Linked DNA regions of Homo sapiens: all the other regions are linked to region 1. The links are contacts of gene promoters, found by promoter capture Hi-C in blood cells and fetal thymus (Javierre and others, 2016). All regions are on one chromosome and are shown on one strand. Each heading gives the region's core, a stretch centred on a gene start or on the middle of the fragment in contact. The rest is flanking DNA. Distances are from core to core; before and after follow the strand shown. Region 1 holds the start of OSR1 (odd-skipped related transcription factor 1). Region 2 holds the start of PUM2 (pumilio RNA binding family member 2). Region 3 overlaps LOC105373454 (a long non-coding RNA gene). Region 4 overlaps LOC105373454 (a long non-coding RNA gene). Region 5 overlaps LOC105373454 (a long non-coding RNA gene). Region 6 overlaps LOC105373454 (a long non-coding RNA gene). Region 7 overlaps LOC105373454 (a long non-coding RNA gene).

Region 1 (2,518 bases), core at 12-2,511:
ATCAGATTAGCTTTGCAAACCAAAGCTGGAGATAGCAGAAGCTCCTCGGGAGAGAAGCAGTACAGTACTTAGGGACCCACGGAATCTAGGATCCAGCTCCAAGAGTCACTCAGCAGCAACTCTGGGGCAAAGGCAGAGAGTGCAGTTGTGTGATCTGGACCCACACAAGTCCCAGGAAACCAGTGACTCCTCCTTGCCAAACCCAAGGCCTGGAAGGGTATTCCAGAAAGGCATTAGGGAGGGATTGGGCTGGGGTCAGCCGGAGGTCAGCTTTCAGAGATGGGTAGTCAAGGGGGTGATGGTACCCTCCATAATGCCTAGGCAATGAAGATAGAATTTTTAATGTCCAGAACTCTGATTCCTTTCCGATTAAAAACTCCACCTGAACCAGCTCCTTGACTCAGAGGCCCTGGAACTGACAACTTTGCAGCTCGTCTAGCTTGCCAGTGCGGCTCTCTAAACTCTGATCCATCCTAAAACAAATATGTAAGTAGAGAGTGCCACTGTGCATTGGGGTGAAATCTCAGAGAGTTCTGGGCCCCAGGAAAATAACTTTCCTGACCTCCTTTCCCTACTCTTTGTTCTTTCTACTGGACTCCAGAACTTAGGGTCTGGGGTCAACCATAAGCACTCAGATGTTACAGCTCGCTTGCTTCGGTGACCCTGGCCCTCCCGCACCAGGAATTAACCAGCGCTGCCTGGGTTAACACCCTGGCCCCGAGCACGCTTGGATAGCCAGGAGCTGCTCCACACTCGGGGTCTGCCGCCTCTGGAAAGAGATTCTGGGAGGAGATGCGACTCTGTCAGGCGCCAAAGTGCGTTGAAACCCAAGCCGCGGTGTGGGGATCCCGGTGCACAGAGCTACTGCCCCTCCCTCCCTCCTCCCAAAGAGCACGGGCTGTGTCCTAGGAGCCCAAGTATAGGACCTCGAAACGTGCGGTGCCAGCCCGCTCTCATCTGCTAGGGACCGTTTCCTCCAGTGCGCCAGGCGTGCCGCTCTGGACCTAAAAAGGCAGCAGGGGTCGCGCGGGACTGAAGAGGAGGGGACGCAGGTTGGGAGAGGCCGGGTCCAAGCGAGAGCAGCTGCCAAAGTCTGCTGCCCGGGTCAGCAAAAACTTTGTCTTTCATTGCGCAGGCGCAGGGCAGGGTTGGGGGGCAGGGGAGGGAGGGGAGGAATCCTGAGGCAAGGGGCGGGGGTGGGGGTGGTGGAGGAGGGAGGGTGGTGGATTAAAATAAGTAGGCGGCTCGGTGCTAAGGGATGAGTGAGTCGGAGCTCGGCCTCTCCCCGGCACGTTCTCAGCTGCTCCTGGTTCAGACCCAGCGAGGGAGCCGCGAGCGAGGCTCACCGTCCCCGGCGTGCAGGATCCGGGGCTGCTGAGCGCTCGCTCCCGCGTGTCCGGCGCTTGGAGTCCCCGCGGCAGGAGAGGAGTCGGGACACTAGAGCTCCAGGGGCGCCTGTGGGCTCCAGGGCCTCCGGCTTCCCCAGTCCCCTTCAGCTAAAGCCCCAGAGACGTGCTCAGCCCCAGGACCTCTGCGGAACAAGGTAATTGCAGTCCTGGGCGCCTGGGCTCAGCAAAGCGAATGCGGGCAGGACTCCCAGGTTCCTTGTCACTGCTCGGCGGGTGCCTCCTCTCTCTCAATGCCCCTGAAGGAAGCTCTTGCCAAACGAATGCTGTAGGACTTTTGTGAAAGTGAGAGCAGGGTGGTTGGGGGTGCTGCCTCAGGACTTCCTGCGCGGGGTCCTCGGCCTCTGACCGCTGGGGATTAAGGGGGGCGGGCCTCCGCTACTGCGGCCAGCCCGCCCGGCTCTGCGGAATCACGGGCGAGGTGCCCACGGACTTTGAAAGTCAATCTGTGGGCCCCCTTTAAGAAACCAGAGCAACTTCAGCGGGCACAAACTTTCCTGAGACGCGCTCCTAGCTCTGGCTGACGCCCAGGTTGACGAAGAAGGAAGGGAGAGGGAGTGAATGGCCACAGCCGCAGCCGACCGCGCCAGGGACAGGTGCATGCCCCAGCTCGGTAGCGCTTTCGTTCAAGTTTGTCTTTTGAGGAGTTGCGCTCTAGTATGAGGCCGCCTAGACCCGAGAGCGCAGGGCTGCGAGTCTGAACCCCGCCTTGCACTCGCGCTCTAACTTAGGGATATTCTCCATAGGATGATTGCTCTGTGTCGTCAAGGCCTGGAGCGGAACCCTTGATTGTCCTGGTGCAGGGAGGCAATGCAGTGGGCGCAAGCACTGCTTTCCAATTCGAGACCCACACACAGCACTAGTGGAAACTCTGTGGAGCCCTAGGGTCTCCGGGCTGGGGACAGGAAAAGTTCTGTTACTCCCCTGACTGTCCGCTAATCCAGCCGTCAGGAGAGAAAGAAGGGGGAAAGGGGTGAAGGGCTGCCTGCTGAACTAATTTCTCCTCGGAAATGTCTCGGAGAAGAATGAAAAACCACGTTTAGTCCTTTTTCAGCAGCTCAGGCAGTAGCGGGTTGGGTTCTCAATGTGTAAAGTAGCCGCAAGGGTTTCTT
Region 2 (2,518 bases), core at 13-2,512, 990 kb before region 1:
GTAATTTGGGGAATGAATAGGTGGTGACACTGCCAATTACAGAGACAGTACAAGAGTGGGGGGTAGGGGATGGGTGTGACTTCAGTTTTTAACATGCTTGGTGACAAGAAAATTCAAGTGAAAATATCTAGAAGCCTGAAATATGAGCCTAAGGTAGGGGCTTGGGATGGATTTCAATGTCAGACATTTTTCAGTAATAGTTAAAAACCGAAGAGCCCATGTGTATTCAACAGGCACTTGCGGGCACAGTGTGAAACAAAACACAAGGTCCTTGCCCTCGTGGAGCTCACAGTCGCCTAGGGAAGACATATATTAAGCAAACTATACGGGAGGCCCTGAATATTTACGAAGTGCAGCATGTCAGGAGAGCCAGGAGCTGTGCAAACAAACCATCAAGAACAAATCGGACACGGTGCCTGTTACAGCTGTGTGACCTGGAGCCGGTTAGGTTAGAATCCTGGAATCACCACTGCTTTGCATGGGGGTCCAGGACAGCAAGGCAGATTTGGAGTTTCCAACTAGCCTGTAAACGGGGAAGGAGAGAGCGCTTAGTACGCGAGAAAAAGAAACAGCCAACGAGTGAGAATCACTGGCCCAGCTGGAGAACGACCTGAGTTTCCTTTGTGTGCACCGGGACCAAGCACTGGGGGCCGACAATTTGCTGAGAGCTGGCTCCACCTGCCTGGGGTGCAACCACGAGAAGAGTGACAGCCCTCTCGCAGGGTACAATCTTCCACCCCCAGATGCATCTCCCTCGTCTGGTTGTGGGGAGGTACAGAGTGAAAGTTAAAGGCCTGAATTAACGTCCGGCTCTTGTGGGCGCCAGCACTCTGGAAGCGAAATGCCAGGAGTACCCCACGGTGGGCGGCGCGGGCGCAGACACCCGCACACCCAGTTGGGGGAAAACAGTGAGCAACCGGGTAGGAAGCCGAGGGTAAGAAGATTCAGAAGGCGAGGCCCCACGCGGGAAGACAGTCGAACACAGCGTTTGGCAACAGTACGCCTGCGCTCTCCGAGCCCGCCGCGGCGGAGCCCAGGAGGGAAGCGCGAGCCCGCAAGGTGAGGGCGGGGGAGGGCACGCCGGAGAGGCGGCCAAACACGTGAGAGCGCGGAGAACGTGCGCACGCGCAGGGCGCCCCCGGCCCGCGCGGCGGCAGCGCGGGAGCAGGGACGCAAGGCATTAAAAGGAGCCGCGCCTTGGTGAGCGCTCCCCCTCCCCTTTCTCCCGGGGTGCACTGCGCGCGCCCGGTGGGCGGGGGGGAGGGGAGGGCAGGCGGCGGTGGCAGCCATGTTGTTGTGAGTCTCTGTGTCTCACCCTCGGTACTTCGGTGGTTCGGAGGAGGAGGGGGAGGAGAAGGAGGAGGTGGGGTGGGGGGGGAGGGTGGTAGGTGGAGAAAGAAGACATTGCCGCCACCGAAGGCGGAGGAGGGGGAGGACCGCCAAGAGCGACGCCGCCGTGTGCCCAACGGTCGGTGTCCCCGGCTGAGGCAGCGCGGCCGCAGCAGCCCTGTAAGTCAGTCCGCGTTCGCTCTTTCTCCGGTCCTTTGGCGCCGTCGAGGATGGCTCCCCAGGCTTTGTGCGGCGGCCTCGGCGGGAGCCGATCGCCAGCGGGAGGGCGGATAGGGCCTGCTGAGTGCCCGGGCCGGTGCGGCCTGGGGCCCGCTCGCACAATGCAGGGGGAGGGGTGCCGGAAGGGGGTGTGCGCGTGCGGGGGAGGGGGCGCCGCGCCGGCCGCTTTCCCGCTTCCTTCCCTCTGCGGGGCCGCCGCCTCGGGGGCGTGGGGCGCCGACCCGGTTCTCCCTCCGATTCGGCGCGCTGGAGGTTAGAGACCGAGCTGTCGGCCCTAGGGTTCGGAAAGAGGGGAGAGGCCGGGTGGCCCCAGAGAAGCATGCGGATTGCAAGTGGGTGAAGAGGAAGGAGTGGGTTTATGAAAACAAGTGTGGGCATTTTCAAAGGCCCGAGTGTGTCCGGGAAAAGCTTGCCGTGGACAGATGTGGGTATGAAGCAGTGACTTGGATTCGCCTTGTTTAGGTTATAGGAACGGATTTCGATATTCAGAAAAATATGTAAATTAAAACCAAAGACAAGATTAGCGGCTTCTACTATTTGAGCAGTAGTTTTGTATCTGAATTGGGTCAGGTTTTGGGGAAAATGTTTAAAGTTTCATGCCCAAACACGTGTAAAAGTTAGTGTTGTTTCTGAAAACACAGCCAGAGAAAACCTACTTAACTTAGCTTTTTATTCTAACATACGTAAACTTTTGAAGAGAGGAATGTATTGCCAGCATATTAGGTGCAATAAGACATCATGTTAGGACTTAGTACTTTGAGATTTTTACTTGTTGAGAAAACGGGGCAGATGTTTTGGTGAAGGAAAACATGAGAAAAATGCTTGTAAACGGTGAAGAGAAATGTAATACCTGTAAAGGTACTGTATGTCAAGAAAACAATTTTAATAAAGGGAGTTACCGAAGGATTTTAAAAGCTTGTTTAATGGTTAGATTTCGTGTTTAACAGGT
Region 3 (2,518 bases), core at 12-2,511, 960 kb after region 1:
CATGGAAGTTGTTGTATAAAATCTCATTAGCTGATTGATTCTTTCAGTGGTTCTCTCTAATTCCATCAGCAAGCTGGCAGAGGACCAGGTTTCATAGTTTAAGCCTTGATCAGCCTAAGATGAGACTATGTTTTACCAGCCCCAAGAACGTGATATAGGAACACCTGTGTCTGAACTCCTAGTTCAATGCTGATCAATAACTCCCTGAGTCAGGCATTTCTGATGCACAAAGAGCAACTTTCTAAACCAAAAACATCTCAGATTACTGGCTTTGCCACCAATTCTATTTTGCCTGTATAGATCTTCCTTAAATAATAGAGGCGTCTTTTTTTATGTCTGTAACTCTGCAAGCATTGTTTAAAAAACTCTACTTATAAGTATATAATTTAAAAAAGTTAAAGAATTTTCAGCATTTCTTCACAACAGCGGCTTTCAAACTCCAGGGTGAATCTGAATCACCTGGGGACTTGTTAAAGCACTGGTGTGCACCCGCCACTCCAGTTTTGGACTCAGTATTTCTGAGATGGGGCCTGATAATTTGTATTTCTAAAGAGTCTCAAGGCAATGAGGATGCTGCTGCTTACACGTTGAAAATCACTGCCCTATCCTAACACTTTTACTTCAAAATTTTTTTCCCAAGCACTTGTCTGCATGTTATTTTCCATAGTTATTATCCTAGTATATGAAATTTGTGCATTTTAATTTTTTTCTGAATTATAAAGAGTCTTCCCCCTGTCACCAAATAAAAGGACCTGTTGGAGTTTGGGGATAAGATGTCCCAAGAGGCACAATAAGAATTACTTAACTCTTCTACAAGGTGGAGCATTATTAAGAAAAATTTTTTTTTAACTTTTAGTTCAGGGAGGGGTACATGTGCAGGTTTTGTTATATAGGTAAACTTGTGTAATGGAGGTTTGATGTACAGATTATTTTGTCACCCAAACACTAAGCCTAGTATCTAATAGTTATTTTTTTTCTTCTCCTTTCTCTCCTCCCACCCTTCATCTTCTGGTAGGCACCAGTGTCTGTTGTTCCCCTCTATGTGTCCATGTGTCCTCATCATTTAGCTCCCACTTATGACAACATGCCGTATTTGGTTTTCTGTTCCTGCATTAGTTTGCTAAGAATAACGGCCTCTAGTTCCATCCACGTTTCTGCAAAGACATGATTTCATTCTTTTTTATGACTGCATCGTATTCCATAGTGTACATGAACCATGCTTGCTTTATCCAATCTGTCATTGATGGGCATTTAGGTTGATCCCATATCTTTGCTATTGTGAATAGTGCTGCAATGAACATATGCATGCATGCATCTTTATAGTAGAATGTTTTATATTATCTGGGTATATACCCAGTAATAAGAATGCTGAGTTGAATGGTAGTTCTGTTTTTAGCTCTTTAAGGAATCAAAACACTGCTTTCCAGAATGGTTGAACTAATTTGCAATTCCACCAACATTGTGTAAGTGTTCTGTTTTCTTCACAGCCTCTCCAGCTTGTTATTTTTTGACTTTTTCATAATAATCATTCTGACTGATGTGAGATGATATCTCATTGTGGTTTTGATTTGTATTTCTCTAACCATCAGTGATGTTGAGCTTTTATTCATATGATTTTTGGCCACATATATGTCTTCTTTTGAGAAGTGTCTGTTCATGTCCTTTGCCCACTTTTTGATGGGGTTGTTATTTCCCTTGTAAATTTGTTTAATTTCCTTATAGATACTGGATACTAGACCTTTGTCAGATGCATAGTTTGTGAAAATTTTCTCCCATTCTGTAGGTTTTCTGTTTACTCTTTTGTTAGCTTCTTTTGCTGTGCAGAAACTCTTTAGTTTAATTAGATCTCCATTTGTCAATTTTTGCTTTTGTTGCAATTGCTTTTGGCATCTTTGCCATGAAATCTTTGCTAGGTCCTATGTCTAGAATGATATTGCCTAGTCTTCCAGGGTTTTTGTAGCTTTTGGTTTTACGTTTAAGTCTTTAATCCTTCTTGAGTTGATGTTGTATATGGTGTAAGGAAGAGGTCCAGTTTCAATCTTCTGCACATGGCTAGCCAGTTAACCCAGCACCATTTATTCAATAGGGAGTCCTTTCCCCATTGCTTGTTTTTGTCAGTTTCATATAAGATCAGATTGGTGTAGTTGTGTGGCTTTATTTTTGGGATCTCTATTCTGTTCCATTGGTTTATGTGTTTGTTTTTGTACCAGTACCATGCTGCTTTGGTTACTGTAGCCCTGTAGTATAGTTTGAAATTGGGTAGCATAATGCCTCCTGCTTTGTTATTTTTGCTTAGGATTGCCTGGGTTATTTGGGCTCTTTTTTGTTTCATATGAATTTTGAAGTAGCTTTTTTCTAATTCTGTGAAGAATATCACTGGTAGTTTGATAGGAATAGCATCGAATCTATAAGTTGCTTTGGGCAGTATGGCCATTTTAACGATATTGATTCGTCCCATCTATAAGCATGGAATGTTTTTCCATTTGTGTTTGTATCATCTCTGATTTCTTTGAGCAGT
Region 4 (2,518 bases), core at 8-2,507, 940 kb after region 1:
TTATTGTATGTTGCCATAGCATTTATAACGTCATATTTTATTAGAATAGAAAAATGATAGTATTCTAAAAGGTAAATAGCACTTAACCCAAAGATAATGTTTATAAGAAATTTTCTATGCTAACAAAATTTAGAATTTAACACTAGAAGTCTAGAATCAAACTAATATAATAAATTATCCTATCTTTATTAATAAATGTCTTGTTAATAAATTCAAATTTTTAATGTTGCTCCAATGTGAAGTACTGTCTCTATGGCAGTTCCAGTAGTACTAAGGATTAGCCTTTTAAAAATATTTATAAAATAGCCTACATCTTTAGGAGTCTCATAGCTCAGAGGAGAGGGACAGACAAATTGAAAAATGATTACCACCTAGTATGATCAAACACAAATATATCCTAACTAGAGAGGCAACAAAGAGAGTGCAGGGAAATTTTGAGGGGAGAAGAAGAGCTATTAAATAATTACTTTCAGGGGGCTGCAGTTAGGGTGGGACTGGAAGTTGCTTTTTGTTAAAGCTGCAATTGATATCAGTGTTTGGGTGGTATTTGCTGGACAGTCATTATTTCCAGAACTAGACCTCAAAATAAAAAAAGAGTTTGAAAAACAACAGAATTTTCTCATCTTTCTTAATTCCACTAATATGGCTAAGCACTTATTTTGAAAGAGATACAGAAACATGAGTCACCTGGAATAGGATCCACAGAGTGGACATACCCTCAATGCCCCTTTGCATTTCTTTCTCTGTTCTAACTTAGAAAAAAAAGAAAGAAAGAAAGAAAGAAAGAAAAAGAAAGACCTCAAAATTCTATGATAAGCCACATTTAAACAGTGTCAACTTCAGAAGACATCAGGAGGAAGCTGTGTGTCTCTCTTTTCCTAAACTGGAGGAAACTCACAGGACCCATGACTCATCTCAGACAGTGAAAGCTTCCTGGCAAGCATGCTTGCATTAGAACATGGGAGTGAGAGATGTTGGGATCCCTTGGCTTCCCTTCCCCTCAGTGACAAGCTATCCTCTTGAACTTACTGCATTCAAAGATGTTCTTTCTTATCGTTCATAGAAAATTTTACAACAGCCAAAGAGAAAATGTCTTAGACTCCACATTCATCAATAGTTTGCTTACATGGAAAATTGTATTTTATGAAAGGTGACTCATGTGTTTATGCAAGCATATCTAAGTATTCGTACTGTCCAATGTGGCAGTTAATGATAAATCCTTTGAACAAATGTGTTTTTGCATTTCTACACATGTAACACATAGAGTTGCAACTGAACTAATAATTTACATTTTCAGATGTTTAATCTTTCCTAGCTAATTGACTTCTTGGGCTGGGTCTTGGCTGAAATCTGCAGAGCCAAATTCTCCTACTGCCAAAGCTACTCCCTAGTAGGGTTAGAGACTTTTGGAAGTTGCATTACGATTTCTTCAGGCTTCCAGACTGACTGTTTTGAGAAGGGCTCATAACTACATTAGACAAGGCGATACATCTTTAAATCGGAATATTTTTTGACTTAAAATGAAAACATACATTAAGTTTCTTAAATAATGAACTGAAAATTCTCCTTTAAAAAAGAAGCTTAAAAATTCTTTCTATTCTAATTTGGTTGCTTTGAAATGTAAATACCTTTTTTTTAAAAAAAAACAAGCAAATTCCTTTATAGTACCAAATTACTCACTATGTTCCATGATGACTCATATTAACCCTAGAATCAGGAAAAAGCAATGTAGGATAGTGAAAATATGCATATTTTCATATATTTCTATGTCAAATTCCATTTCTATCACTTACCAACTATGTGTTTTGGGGAAATTTTTTAACCTCTCTGCTTCAACTTCCAAACAAGAAACTAGAAATTATATTTAGTGAGATAATATGTATAAAGAACTTATTTTAAAGCAAATACGTAACAAACAGTAACTATATTGACTTATACTGATAGTTAAAAATGTCATGTTTTAAGCTAATTGGAAAAATCTCAGGTATCAGAAAGCCATTAGGGAATGAGTTGTGTTATAGGGTTCAAACTTTTAAAAAATCATTATTTCAAATATAAATCTTTCTAAAATTGCTTTATATATTTTGTCCCTTCATTAGAATAATCTCATTCATTATAATCTAGTATTTTCTTAATAACTTAAAATTTTAGATTCTGCTATTTTCTAGGCTCTTCTGAGGTTTGCAAGGCGTTGCCCTTGCACTAAGTAACATTACATTGAGATGTAGCATTGTGTTTAACATTATTTTAAAAAATTGTTATTAGTAGTAATGAGACCTGAAAGAGCTATTTTTACTCCTAAAGCAGACAATCTTTCACTGAGAGAATGAAATGGGCATAGGGAAAAGCCTAGATATTACTATATGATGAAATTTAAAAATGTTCCAATTGAAAATATTTTGGGGGAAAGCTGTTCTGTATGTAATGACAGAACAGCTAGAATTTAAAGTTTCCAAAGTTTAAATTACACTCCAATATTTCAATTTAAAGAGAAAGATTATAAGCGAATGGTAATTTC
Region 5 (2,518 bases), core at 11-2,510, 930 kb after region 1:
AAAATGAGAATAGATCAGCTCTGGAATGTCTAAGGGAACCAAGGCCATGATTAATGAGGGTCAACTTTAAAACCAGAGCACACACAGATAGGATTACTTCACACAGAGAGCAGAGTCTGTCTGACCCAGGCTACCCTAATGCAATCTCCTGAGGCACATCATTCACAAATCTTGCTGGTTTCAGGGATACACTGACAGTAAAAGAGATACAGAGAGAACTTCCTTTGGCCATAGGGAGACAGGACCAAAGTGCCATAAATGCAATGATGATGGCTATTAAGGCAAGTTGGTAAGTATTTCTAGAAGTTCAAAGTTGAAGTTTTGGTAAAGCACAGTATACTCTTGCAGATGCTAGTCATTGCTGCTACTTTTTTTTTTTACTTGTTTGTTTCTTATTTCTACAGATAAGAGCCTGGAAGCTGTTGTGAGATAGAGTTTCCTGTGGTATGTAAGACACTTAGAAGTGGAAATAGAGTCACAGGACCAGAGAGCCAAAAGAAGGGGGAGACCTGCTCATACTAGATTTCTTAGATGGCCCAGTATGAGTTTACCAAAGGAGAAATAGAAACCACTCACAAGAAATGGCCTTAATCTCTTCAAATAAACAACGAAGGAAAGCTGACCAAGGACAGAGACTCTAAAACACAAGAGGGACCCAAAAGGTATTCAGCAGAAATCCTAGAACACCATTCCTTATTCTCCTTTCCAAAACAGCTAAATGTGTATTTGCTGAAGGCAACTACATGTGTGGAGAACAATAAAATGATGTCTTCTTTCATGGAGCTTATGGAGTTAAAAGACCACAATTAATATATTTAAGCAATTGAGAACAAGAGACAACACTGCATCTGGGCATGGTGGCTCACACCTGTAATCCCAGCACTTTAGGAGACCAAGGCAGGAAGACCGCTTGAAGCTGGAGTTTGAGGCCAAGTTGGGCAAGAAATTGAGACCCTGTCTCTACAAATACATACATACACATATACCTATACATACATATATATATATATATATATATATATATATGAAAATTAGCCAGGCATGATGGCATGTGCCTGTAGTCCTAGCTACTCAAGAGGCTGAGGCTGGAGGATCACTTGAATCCAGGAGTTCAAAAAAGCTGTAGTGACCTACGATCACACCACTACACTCTAGACTGGGTGACAGAGAGTGAGATGCTGTTTCCAAAGAGAGAGAGAGAGAGACAACACTGCATTTGTTATTCAGTCATTGAATAAATATTTGTTAAGCATCTATTGTGTGCTTCGTATTGATCTAGACACTGGGACACAATGGTGAAAACACGGACAAGGTCCCAGTTCTCATGACATTTATATTCTAGTGTCTGTGTGGGGAAGAGATACATAATAAACAAGTAACAATAAATGAAGATGATTTTAGTTGTTAAGAGCAATAAAGAAAATGGAGAAGAGTGGCATGGTTGTGCTTGAATGATAGAGGATGAGTGAGGATGGAGTAATTTAGACTAAAGGATTGGAGGAATTCTCACTGAGAAAGTGATGCTTGAGCTAAGACTGCAAAGATAGACCTGTTAAGATAAACGAGAGTGTTTACAGGCAGGAAAACCATATGCAAGAGCCCTAAGGCTAACAATAACCTTATTTGTTCAGAAAACACAAAGAAAGCCATTGTGGTTGGGGCTTATATTGCAAGGAGGAGAAGGATGGAAGAAATTTTCAGAGAGGTCTATAGGGACATGGTCATATAAAGCCTTTTAGGTCAAGGTAAGGTGCCTCAATTTCATTTCAAGTGCAATGGGAAGACATTGGAGAGTTTTAGGCAAATGATTAACATTGTTCATGTTTGCAAGAGATCATAATTACTGCTCTGCCGAAAATAGATGGTGGAAGGAATGGGATAGAAGGAGGGGGACTAGTTAAGAGATAACACAATTCTTCAAGCAATAAATCATGTTGTTTTGGACAAGGTGCTACTAGTGATGTGGAGAGAATCCAGATATGTTTGGCAGTCGGGCCTACAGAACTTGCTGTGGAATTGAATAGTGGTGCCTTATACTGAGACAAGAGGCCCAGGCAGGAGCTGGCTTAGAAACGCCAACATAGTTTTGGGAGTCTTATGAAATCAGAATTGTGTGATTCTTACTGGTTCTGGTCGTCTGGAAGAGTTTCTAGAAGGTAAACCTGAGTTTGACCTGTCAGGATGGGTAGAATTTGAATACTTAGCGATGTGTTGCTGAGATTGATTTTAGAGTGACTAAAATTCGTTGCTTCATTACTTCACCAACTTCAGTCATTAGTGATTTATTTGGCCACATCAAATGTACTTTTACTGAACATATTTTTAAAAATTGAAGCCTCTTCTTTTTGTTCTTAAATATTTTTTTAAATACACATCATGCCAAGGCACCGATTGGGCTGGAGCTCCTTGAACACTGCACTGAGTTAAACGCCATCAGCCACCCTATTCTTAAAACCAATGCTGTGTGCCTTCGTTAGCACTCACCACCCTGAATCAAACGTTCTGTTGACTTGTCTTT
Region 6 (2,518 bases), core at 11-2,510, 890 kb after region 1:
TCTTGAATATCAGCCATGCTATTAGAAAGTAAAGAAGGGTATGTGAGTCATGATCCTTCTTTCAGCAAATGCCAAAACTCTAACTCACCCCATAAATGGAAAATTCGGAGATGGGGCTGAAGGCACCGCTGGATCCAGAGGCTTTAACTAAGTTATTAAAATCTGTTTTAATAACTTTTTTATTAAATTATAAATAATTTTATAGTTATTGATATGGTTCAGCTGGTCCCCACCCAAATCTCATCTTGAGTTGTAGCTCTCATAATTCCCACCTGTTGTGGGAGGGACCCAGTGGGAGATAATTGAACCATGGGGACAATTTCCCCAATACTATTCTCATGGTAGTGAATAAGTCTCACGAGATCTGATGGTTTTATAAGGGGAAACCCCTTTCACTTGACTCTCATTCTGTCTTGTCTACTGTGATGTAAGATGTGCCTCTTGCCTCCTGCCATGATTGTAAGGCCTGATGAGCCATGTGAAACTATGAGTCCATTAAACCTCTCTTTCTTTACAAATTACCCAGTCTCTGGTATGTCTTTATCAGCAACGTGAAAATGGACTAATACACTTATGTATTTGTTTATTTTTACTTTATCCAGCAATTTTTCTTTTTATATTACTAAAGACAATAATCATAGAAGCGCTTAGAGAAAAAGTCGTATTTAGCTTTCAAGCCATTTAGGACAATGGCAGTTTCCAAGTGGTATGACCATGCTTCTCCCTTGAAAGCAGTAAGTTACTTAGAGAATACCTTAGAAAATGTTTGGATATTCCCTATAGGAACATTGTTCTTATAGGAAGAAGACCTTGCACACTGACTCCTAGCAGTATACGGCACTCTTTCCTAACAGACCACCCCCTTAGTATAGCAAGAGGGTTTTGTATAATGTGATCTAATTCACATCACAGTTTTCAGTAGTATGACTGTGTTATTATTGAATTATTAAAGGAAATATAGTGGTCTTGGTAAAAGATACTTTAAGCAAATACATGGAAGGTAGATTGCTGATTTAACAGAACAAAAATTAGTGTCTATATTATGACCTCAGACCAGCTAAGGACTCTAGAGAACAATGAACACCCCTAAGTAATCTTTCCTAGAATGTCTGGGAGATATCCAGGCTTCGGTGTCATGAGGTTAGAACAGAAAGCTTGTGTCATGAGGTTAGAACAGAAAGCTTGGCCGATGTTCTGAATTCATATTGATGGATTGTGAATGGCATGTTCTCCACAGAGACCTTCTTTGTAATTAAATAATCTTCTCTTTCTATTCTTGTATCTTCAAGAGATCATTGAGTAATTTACTCCCATGGACTCAATTGATCTTCAAGCTTTCTGGAGCAAATATTTTACATTTACTTGTGATTAATGTCCTTTTGTTCACACATTAAGGATGACATTTATTTATCTAAAATTTTTCCTCTCTTTTATGTAAATGTAGAAGTGCAGCCTCCTTGACTAGACAATCGCACATCTGAAAATTCTTTGTTTTGTTTTGTTAGAGACAGGCTTTCACTCTGTTTCCCCATGCTGGAGTGCAGTAGTGGTATGATCATAGCTCACAGCAGCCTGGAACTCCTGGGCTAAAGCCATCCTTCTGCCTCAGCTTTCTGAGTAGTTGGGATTGCAGGTGTGTGCCACCACAACAGGCTAATTTTTAACACATTTTTGTAGAGATCGGGTCTCACAATGTTTCCCAGGCCAGTCTTGAGCTCCTGGCCTCAAGAAATCCTCCAGCCTTGACCTCCCAAAGCTCTGGTATTACAGGTGTGTGAGCCATTGCACTTGGCCCGGAACATTTTTGAAGGCCAAATAATTGGAAGCATTTCACAGCTCTGCCTCATAGGTTAAAATGCCCTTTTTATCTGGGCATGGATTTCATTATTGTCCTTAAATTTATAAACAATATGCAAGGCTGGCTGGCAAGGTGGCCAAATAGGAACAGCTCCAGTCTGGAGCTCCCAGCGAGATCAATGCTGAAAGCAGGTGATTTCTGCATTCCTAACTGAGGTAACTGGCTCATCTCACTGGGACTGGTTAGACAGTGGGTGCAGCCCACAGAGGGCAAGCAGAAGCAGGGTGGGGCATCACCTCACCTGGGAAGCGCAAAGGGTCGGGAAACTTCCTCCCCTAGTCAAGGGAAGCCATGAGGGACAACGCCGTGAGGAACAGTGCATTCCGGCCCAGATACTGTGCTTTTCCCATGGTCTTCACAACCCACAGGAAAGGAGATTCCCTCTGGTACCTACACCACCAGGGCCCTGGGTTTCAAGCACGAAACTGGACCACAGCTTGGGAAAGCCGCTGTAGCCAGACTGCCTCTCTAGATTCCTCCTCTTTGGGCAGGGCATCTCTGAAACAAAGGCAGCAGCCCCAGTCAGGGGCTTATAGATAAAACTCCCATCTCCCTGGGACAGAGCACCTGGGGGAACAGGGTACAGCTTCAGCAGACTTAAACATTTCTGCCTGCCAGCTGTGAAGAGTGCAGCGGATCTCCCAGCACAGCGCTCAAACT
Region 7 (2,518 bases), core at 6-2,505, 880 kb after region 1:
TATTTACAAAACAAGACTTTTTTTTCTGGGTTTTCTATTGACCACTCCACCCTGATTTTAAAATCTAAGGAGAAAATGACCCGTGACTCTGTGATTACCCCTCTCACTGGAGCTCTGTTAGGTTTGCAGAGTCTCTGCCAACTCCTAACATCTGGCACCTGACCTCACTCTTCCAGGATTCAGTTTCCTCATCTGTGATAGTCCCTTTCTGGTCTTGCAAAATGTGTTTCTGTGCCTTTTACAAGAACATGTTGGACTAAAGTTTCCAGGGACATAAACTGTCAGACCTGGATGGGGTGGGGGACCTCATGAGCATCTGGCTCAAGTTTCCTAACGTCCCTTGAGTCTCAGTTCTCTTTGAGAATTTGATGAAAGCGGTGACTGCTGAACCTAGAAAAAGGCACCAGAAGGCACAACGGTGGATGCAATCTCAGGGGTTTCGTGACTCTCCTAAAGCCCCTCTGAGGATCCCAGGCTAGGAACCCTTGGTCTAGGTTCAGAAACCAAGGCCCAGAGAGGGGAAGGCTTGTTCAAGGTCATCCAATAAGTGTGTGAATAAAACTTCAGCTCTTGTTGCACATTTTGCAGCGACTGTCTCTCATACATGCACACATGTCAGCATTACTGTCTGAAAGCATTTTTCATATATATTTTCTTACAGCAGCTCCATAAACTCATCTGAATTGGTATTATTACAAGTGTCTGAAATACATGGAGACCATAAGGACTCTGTAACTTCCCTAAAATTCAACAGTTAGGAGAGAGTACAGGTTGGACTTTAAATCTGGGAGTCCTGATTCAAACACATTTGCTCTCTGCCATGTCACAGTTCTGCAAACAACCTAGTGTAACCTTAGGGAGAGTGAAATAGAGGCAGAAAGTGGCTTGATAAAGAACCACAGGAACAATGCAGGTGGCTGATTAATCCAGACAGGGAGCATCTAGAAAGGCTTCATGGGCCTTGGATGGGATGGTACAAAGGGCAAGGAAGGTTTTGTCTGCCTGGAGGAATAGCATGGGCAACATTATTCCAGGTACAGTAAAAAAAAAGACAGAGACATAACTTCATCATGGGAATATGGAGGTGTGTGGAGAATAGCAGGTTTCCCAGTCAGTGAAGCTGTCAAAATAAACAAATGGAATCATTACTATTCTATCACTTTAGCAAGCACCACCATCAACACCCTAGCGGCTATTCTTCTGTATTTACATGGGGTAAACTAGTTTCCTATCCAGGATCCAAATGCACTTTACATAGTTATTTTCAGGGGGCTAAAGTTTGCTTTAATACTTCTTAGCAGGAGATCACTTGTTTCCTTTTTCTGAAATCTTTCCATACAGTAAGTACTTTATGAGGAGACAGCAATTTATTACAAAGGGTAATGAAGTTTTGTGTATTGAGTCATTCAAGTGTAGCCACCTGCTGGCAAAGATGACATTATATCTAGTTGATCTTCATAAAGTGTAAGAATGCTTCAAATATAAGTGTCTGTAGCTATATGATTGTGACAATTCTAGAGGTCAGCTTACCACAAAAGAGATTTGCCCCTGAGATCCTAGTGCCTGGAAAAGAAAGTTTTAGAATTAAGTGTAGTAAATTTTATAATGGTTGATCTTGTATATGTCCCAACACAATTTACTCAATTCCTCTAGAAGGAAGCATGGAGTTTTCTAGCCAGGAAAAAGCCCTATCTCTGGACACAGGACTCTTTCTCACCTCAGACTGCCTTTTAGGATGGGGGCATCCCATTTCCACCCTAAATACTCCAGAAACCTGTTGTTAGTTTTTAAGTGCACTCTATGCAAACTCATTTGTTTGGTTATTTGGCAATTCATTTATTCATTTCCTCATTTAACAAGTACTTACTGAACATGGCCACATGCCACCTTGGGAACACTTTGATGAGCAAGGTAGATGTGCTCCCTGCCTCCTGGTGCTTACCGTGCACCAGCAGCATTAAGCCCCAGGACTCTCCTGTGGATCTGAGGGCAATGAGGATCTTCTTGTTTCCTGTCTCCATTTTCATAATTTCTAGCCCTATTCTGATCTCCAAACCAGTGCTGGGCTCTAAGTTTGGCAAAGAGGGTCATCTGTCTTTGGAAGGTGTGGATAAGGGCAGAAAATCAGTGGCAGACTTATAAATGTATGAGACATCCTGTCCTCTTCTTCTCCTCAAGGTGACAATCTATCTAATCACCAGGACCCAAGGAAAGCCAGTACAGTTAGTGCTAGAAAAGGAATCCCTTCTTTCAGTGCTGGAATTGACAATATCATTGACCATGTGGTAAGGTAAGCTCCTCCCATCACCTAAAATATCAACTCAGTCTTTCTGGTGCTCTAACCCCTATCTGTTCTTAAGAGCCCAGTTATGTTTCTCACTCCACCAGGCCCCCTTTCCTGACACCCAGCTTTCTCCCAGCTCTCTCCTCTTATGAACTTCTATAGCCTTTGCCTGTGGTCCCCATAGAGATATGCTGCTTGTTTCTTTAGTCAGATTGCCAGATGCTTGTCTAAGGG

What was found. The method cuts DNA at HindIII sites, captures the fragments that hold promoters and counts their contacts. A CHiCAGO score of 5 or more calls a contact.
Region 2: a contact is called between the fragment with the promoter of PUM2 here and the fragment with the promoter of OSR1 in region 1, in 7 of 17 cell types (activated CD4 T cells, neutrophils, fetal thymus and 4 more). The highest score is 11.5, in activated CD4 T cells.
Region 3: a fragment that was not itself captured here is called in contact with the fragment with the promoter of OSR1 in region 1 in 2 of 17 cell types (megakaryocytes and endothelial precursors); the score reaches 8.8 in megakaryocytes.
Region 4: a contact is called between a fragment that was not itself captured here and the fragment with the promoter of OSR1 in region 1, in 3 of 17 cell types (megakaryocytes, endothelial precursors and erythroblasts). The highest score is 13.9, in megakaryocytes.
Region 5: a fragment that was not itself captured here is called in contact with the fragment with the promoter of OSR1 in region 1 in 2 of 17 cell types (erythroblasts and megakaryocytes); the score reaches 10.3 in erythroblasts.
Region 6: a contact is called between a fragment that was not itself captured here and the fragment with the promoter of OSR1 in region 1, in 2 of 17 cell types (megakaryocytes and erythroblasts). The highest score is 7.1, in megakaryocytes.
Region 7: a fragment that was not itself captured here is called in contact with the fragment with the promoter of OSR1 in region 1 in 1 of 17 cell types (erythroblasts); the score reaches 5.3 in erythroblasts.

Annotation. Positions count from the first base shown.
Region 1 is chr2:19,357,366-19,359,883 of GRCh38, reverse strand. It overlaps OSR1 (odd-skipped related transcription factor 1), which reads left to right and starts at 1,261. Exons shown (of 3, transcript NM_145260.3): 1 at 1,261-1,543. RefSeq lists an enhancer at 1,389-1,917. The HindIII fragment of the contact is 8,359 bases long and covers 1-2,518 here.
Region 2 is chr2:20,349,588-20,352,105 of GRCh38, reverse strand. It overlaps PUM2 (pumilio RNA binding family member 2), which reads left to right and starts at 1,262. Exons shown (of 21, transcript NM_015317.5): 1 at 1,262-1,509. RefSeq lists enhancers at 1-532, 740-829, 533-1,164, 1,165-1,794 and a silencer at 990-1,879. The HindIII fragment of the contact is 4,637 bases long and covers 1-1,979 here.
Region 3 is chr2:18,393,291-18,395,808 of GRCh38, reverse strand. The region is part of intron 2 of LOC105373454 (a long non-coding RNA gene); the gene reads right to left. Among named protein-coding and RNA genes, the nearest start is that of RDH14, 170 kb to the left of the region's middle. The HindIII fragment of the contact is 7,094 bases long and covers 1-2,518 here.
Region 4 is chr2:18,412,362-18,414,879 of GRCh38, reverse strand. The region is part of intron 4 of LOC105373454 (a long non-coding RNA gene); the gene reads right to left. Among named protein-coding and RNA genes, the nearest start is that of RDH14, 150 kb to the left of the region's middle. The HindIII fragment of the contact is 651 bases long and covers 932-1,582 here.
Region 5 is chr2:18,430,304-18,432,821 of GRCh38, reverse strand. The region is part of intron 4 of LOC105373454 (a long non-coding RNA gene); the gene reads right to left. Among named protein-coding and RNA genes, the nearest start is that of RDH14, 130 kb to the left of the region's middle. The HindIII fragment of the contact is 3,082 bases long and covers 1-2,518 here.
Region 6 is chr2:18,463,732-18,466,249 of GRCh38, reverse strand. The region is part of intron 4 of LOC105373454 (a long non-coding RNA gene); the gene reads right to left. Among named protein-coding and RNA genes, the nearest start is that of RDH14, 96 kb to the left of the region's middle. The HindIII fragment of the contact is 153 bases long and covers 1,184-1,336 here.
Region 7 is chr2:18,481,780-18,484,297 of GRCh38, reverse strand. All of the region lies in intron 4 of LOC105373454 (a long non-coding RNA gene), which reads right to left. Among named protein-coding and RNA genes, the nearest start is that of RDH14, 78 kb to the left of the region's middle. The HindIII fragment of the contact is 5,167 bases long and covers 1-2,518 here.